Linked DNA regions of Homo sapiens: region 1 is linked to region 2. The links are contacts of gene promoters, found by promoter capture Hi-C in human tissues and cell types (Jung and others, 2019). All regions are on one chromosome and are shown on one strand. The core of a region is centred on a gene start or on the middle of the fragment in contact, and the rest is flanking DNA. Distances in the headings are between cores, read along the strand shown.

Region 1 (2,716 bases), core at 102-2,601, 830 kb after region 2:
CTGTTAGCTGGACATAAGATTGATAATGTCACGCTTACTGGTAAGCAATTTAACTCATTCTCATTAACATCTAGCAAAATAAGTTGAGAGGAAAACTACTATTAAATCTGTTACACTCTTGGGAACCCCATTTTGCAAGAAGGCGGCAGACACTTATGATCCATTGAATATATTAGTGTTTAGTCTGTGATTCTGAAATATACTTCCAAAACACACACGGATTCGGAGAAAAAAACAGGACAAGGTGATGCGAGTATGTAAGTATCCCCTAAGATAGGTCCCTGAAAAATCCTTAATAGTATATCACATTTGGATACGTTTCAGTCGCAGGAAGGCAGGAATGCTGGATTGAAAACACAATACCAGGAACCTAAGAGAAGTCTGAAGGAAAACACAAGTATATGCGTATATATTTTCACTGGAGAATGACGTGAAGCAAAACTAAAAAACAAAACAGTAAGGCAAAGATGGTCACGCGAATGGGAGAGGTGTACGCCAGCGTCAAAAGCGAGATTTAAAGAATTTACTCAGTTGTCAACATCGGTGAAAATCGCATGTGAAATCTTTGTCAGGACTCAGTGTGATGCTGAACTACAATCATTCACTGTTCCTAGCAACTGTGCACAAGTATGCTAGAGCCTTTAACAGAATAAAGTGCTTGGGGAAAACCTCTCACAAGAGGACAAAGGGTCAATGTTACAGCATGAGCCGCCCCAAATCTGAGTGCTGTCAGGAAGGGGAGATGGAGGAAGGTATTCCAAGAGTGAACAGGAATCAGCCAAGGCGAAAGAAAACATGTGCGTGGAGGTGGAGGTTGGTAATATATGGCCACCCCGTCTGCCCTCCGAAGATGCCATAAAAGGGGTGGGATGGCATCAGGCGTCAGGTCCCAGGTCCCCGGCCCCTGGCAGTGAGGTGGGCGTAGAAAAAGGCGTAGAAGAGGGTCTGGGAGACGCGGCATTCCAGGGGTTTGGCGACAGCACCACTCCATCCCTCCGCAGAACGCAGGCCCCTTCTCACCTGGGCGCCGCCGCCTGGCAGCTGCGGGCAGCGGGGAGAACTGGGGAACACGTCGAAGTCACTCTCTTCCTCAGCCTCACCCTCGGCCCGAGGGAGGCTCCAGGGTCCCGGAGGCGGCCACGGTTGTTCCATGTCCGGCTGCTCCGGGTCCTACAACCGCCCTTGGCCCTACAACTGCCACTGCCAACAGACTTGGCGTGAATGGAACCTGCTGCGCCGAGCCAGAAGCCCAGCCGGGGGTCCGGGCCGTTACCCAGAATCCCTCTACTGGCCGCGACGCCGCTGCACACCCGGCGACAGCCTGGGCCTCGCCACCGGCGGACGGCGGAAGAAATAGTCGGCGCGGTGCGTCACTTCCGGTTGGGGCGGGGCTGTGGAGGCGCGTCCCGGGCCCTTTGCGTGTAGTGGGTGGATCTGCAATTGTATTCCTGTTTCAAGCCCCGTTTTCTTGCAGCTCTTCGGCACTGCAAACCTAACCGCTAATGGCGCTGTGGGTGGAGAAACGTTTGTTAGGTAGCGTTATATATTGTTATCTGGTGTTCCCTATACCGAAAACGGCGGGTCCTGGCCGCCGGGAGGTACTCAGACCAGGTGTGCACTTTACATGTTGCTTAAAAATTGCAACTCATTCCTTTACATTGACATTTAAACCAGTGATTCTAAGGCAGAGTTGGGGCGGAGGGAGGAGAATTTTGAACAAGCGGAGCCAATTTTCGTCTCATTTCTAATTACAGGCAACAACAGAATTCTGCGAAACTTGGTTGGTTGGAGGAGCACACCAAAAATAAAGTACCGGAGCCGGCACGGCTTCAAAAAAATTAGGATCAGTACCGCTAGTAGCGAACGCATAAGAAGGGCTTCCTGTATGCCTGCGTATCTTGTTTAAGCCTAAAGATATGTACTCTCTTTATCCTCTTTTTTTGAGACGAGGAAGTAGACCCAGCATGCCCGAGATCACACATTTTACAAGGAAGAAGTAGGATCCAGACCCAGGGAGTTTAACTTCAAAACTTGAACGTTTAACAATCAGGTCTTGCTGCCCTACTCATAAAGAGACCCAAATAAAAACAACATGACGCCATTTTTTTCCATGTGTTTAGACTGGCAAACTTGTGAAGTCGCTTAATACCAAATGTGTACCAAGATGTAAGGAAATGATGTGAGAATGTCATTAGTATAACCTTTTAGGAGGAGTAATTTGACAATATGAGAGGCTTGAGCGGATTGATTCAGCAATTTCACCACTAAGAAAGTATGCAACAATTATTTTTGCACCAATATCCAAAGATTTACTACAAAGATTTCTGGCAGCAATTTTTGTGTGTGTGTGGCAAGAAAAAAAAAAGCATTCTAATTGTCCATCGATAGAGGAACTTAAAGTATGGAATATTAATACAATGGCATATTACCCTTTTTAAAAAAAGTAAATTGTATCTGAATATGCTGATATATAAATACCTCCAAAAGGTATTGAGTTTTAAACAAAGCAACTTGCAGAATTAAACATATGCGTACGTATACAGAGAGAGAAGAGAGAGGGATGGTATTTGTTTGCGTCCGTGTGTGTGTGTGTGTGTGTGTGTGTGTGTGTGTGTGTTTGCGCAGAACATTCCTGGAGGATATGCAAGAAACTGTTAATGATTACCTCTGGTGGGTGAGCCTAGGAAGGAAAGCTTCTGAGGATCTTTACTTTCCA
Region 2 (2,700 bases), core at 42-2,541:
TGGGGAGAAGACACCCTGAAGCAGCAGACAACAAAGAGCCTGATGATGGGGAGACCTCAAATAATGAAGGCAAATAGATCAGGTTCCAGTGGCAAGAGCAGCAGGACCAGGATTGTTCATCCACTCACAGAATCTTAGGCTTGGAAAGGAGCTTGGAGGACATCCAGGCCAACTCCGTATTTGACCCTGATACAACTGTCTCATTACTGCTCACACTGAATATTTTTACTCTGCATTTTGTCAATTTAGGTCTCTCATTCCCTGCCCCTCAGAGCCATAGTATTTTTGGGTTAAAAGTCCTGATTAGTTGGTAATCTCACTCAGGCTTAGCCTCTCCACCTCCATCCCCTCCACATGAACCCATTGCCTTTGCTCTTCTACTCAGTGCATCCAGGCGGTGAGCAATCAATAGCAATTATTTCAGTTCTGTTTAATTTTTCTACCTTTTCGCTGATCATTTTATATGGAAAGAATAAGCCTTTCCATAGTCCCCAAATCATGCTTTTGTTCAATAATGATTACCTCTATAAGTTATTAAGATAATAGTTTTGGGTTTTTTGTTTTTGTTCCCCCTCCACCAACAGCTGCCTCTTAGGCATAGCTTGTAAACAAAGGCCAGCCTGGAGGGATCACCGTCTGCTAAATGGATAATCACAAACAGATGTCAGTCATAGGAAAACAGATTTTTAAGTTCTTCACCATTAAGCCTCCGAAAACTCTAAGCTGAGAGACAATCTTAAGAATAGTTATATTATTTTACAGTGCACATATTTGGTGCAGAAAATATCTCACCTTATAAAACTGAGCAACAAGAACAATATGCATAGGAACAAGTGAGAGAAATCTGGGGCAGGAGGACATTAGCTTATTTGTGCCCCTCAGCACAATTTCTGAGGCAGAATGTCTCTTGCCTCAAATGGTGTGGAGAGAAGGTAGGCCACCCTTCCCCCACCCTGGCAGCCTCATCATGGTCCACAACATAATAGTATGAGAGTATCTCAACCCACTCGTTACTCACATGAGGACTTGCCACAGCTCCACAAGTAAAGATGCAAAAGTAAACAACAAAAAACAGTTGCTGTTTGTGTTAGATTTCCTTATAGTAGCCACCAAAATGAACAGCCAAAAGGAAAAACAAAACAATCAACATGCAGTAGCTCCAACCCAGGATTCTTTCTAGCTGGGACATATGAGGATGGGTAACAAAAAAGCACTCAAAATTTGGCGTTAAGATATATTCAAGAGAAGAAAAGTTGTTCATTCAGCTTAAGGTTTGCCGTAACATGAGAGTGAGTCAAACCAGAACTAGTTCTGAGGAACTGACGAAAGCCTGGCTTATTTGGAAAGTTTTGGTTTTGCTTTTAGCAGTTTGTCTGTGAATGGGATTGCATTCCTGATTTGGCTCTTGGCTTAGCTATGGTTGGTGTTTAGGAATACTAGTGATTTTTGTATGTTCATGTGGGATCCTGAAACTTTCTGAAGTTTATCAGCTTAAGGAGCTTTTGGGCTGAGACTGTGGGATTTTCTAGATATAAAATTATGTCATCTGCAAACATGGGTAGTTTGACTTCCTCTCTTCCTTCTTGGATGCCTTTTCTTTCTTTCTCTTGCCTGATTGCTCTGGCCAGGACTTCCAATAGTATGGTGAATAGGAGTGGTGAGAGAAGGCAGCCTTGTCTTGTGCCGGTTTTCAAGGGGCATCCTTCCAGCTTTTGCCTATTCAGTGTGATGTTGGCTGTGGGTTCATCATAGATGGCTCTTATTATTTTGAGGTATGTTCCTTCAATACCTGGTTTGTTGAGAGTCTTTTTTTTAACATACCTTGAGAGTTTTTAATACCCTTTTATTCCCTCTCTTTCCCCTATTCTTATATGTGCTCCAGCTTCCCCATTGTCCCTGGAGCACATTTAGGAATAGGGGAAAGGGATGGAATGAAGAATACCAGCATGTCTTAGTGCTGTGCCAGGAAATTGACTCATTTCCTAGGGCTTCTGTAACACATGACCTCAAGTCCTTGGCATTCCCTGACTTATAGTTGTATCACTCCAATCTCTGCCTCCATCTTCAAATGACATTCTTTTCTGTGTGTATCTCTACATTCCTCTCCTCTTATGAGGATACCATCCGTTTGATTAGTGCCCACCCTAATGCAGTATGACCTCATTTAGACTACATCTGCGTAGACCCTACTTCCAAATATAGTCACATTCTGAGGTCCTCAGTAGACATGAATTTGGGGGGAACATTATTCAACTAACCTCACTTCATTTCATAGTGCCTCATTTCATTCTCAGTGCAATGTGTGGTTTAGAGTTAGACCCATTTTACACATGAGAAAACAGGACCAAGATCAAACAATGTTTCCTTAGTTGCATGGCTGAATTTGAACTCGGACCTCAGTGGCCCCACTATACCTTCAGGCTTGTGATTGGTGAGATTAAAACCACATGGCAAGAAAAGGCAAACTTGAATATAGGCCTGAATGATCAATCCTTCTCCTGCTGCCTCCCGCCCTTTTCCTTGTGCTTATAGGGGTAGGACCAGCAGAGATGTGGGGCTGAACACTCAGACAGAGGATGTTTTTAAGAAAACATCTCTCCTTGCCTGTCCTCTAAGCCTTCCCTGCCTCCTTGTTTCTTCTACAAAAGCAAGGATCTCCTTTCCTCCTCCTTGTCCTGCATCCTCTTTTCGTCCCATCGC

The links. Contacts are between HindIII fragments. The study calls those that stand out against the background at their distance.
Region 1: a contact is called between the fragment with the promoter of CDC37L1 here and the fragment with the promoter of PDCD1LG2 in region 2, in 1 of the 25 tissues and cell types used here (lymphoblastoid cells).

What each region holds. Positions count from the first base shown.
Region 1 is chr9:4,678,204-4,680,919 of GRCh38, reverse strand. CDC37L1 (cell division cycle 37 like 1, HSP90 cochaperone) reads right to left here and starts at 1,351. Exons shown (of 7, transcript NM_017913.4): 1 at 1,021-1,351. The coding sequence starts at 1,152. It overlaps CDC37L1-DT (CDC37L1 divergent transcript), which reads left to right and starts at 1,440. Exons shown (of 2, transcript NR_121598.1): 1 at 1,440-1,533. RefSeq lists an enhancer at 1,128-1,217. The HindIII fragment of the contact is 7,477 bases long and covers 1,151-2,716 here.
Region 2 is chr9:5,509,122-5,511,821 of GRCh38, reverse strand. PDCD1LG2 (programmed cell death 1 ligand 2) reads right to left here and starts at 1,291. Exons shown (of 7, transcript NM_025239.4): 1 at 1,019-1,291. All of the region lies in intron 2 of INCR1 (interferon stimulated noncoding RNA 1), which reads left to right. RefSeq lists enhancers at 1,193-1,242, 1,403-1,462, 1,523-1,602, 1,544-2,700. The HindIII fragment of the contact is 28,529 bases long and covers 1-2,700 here.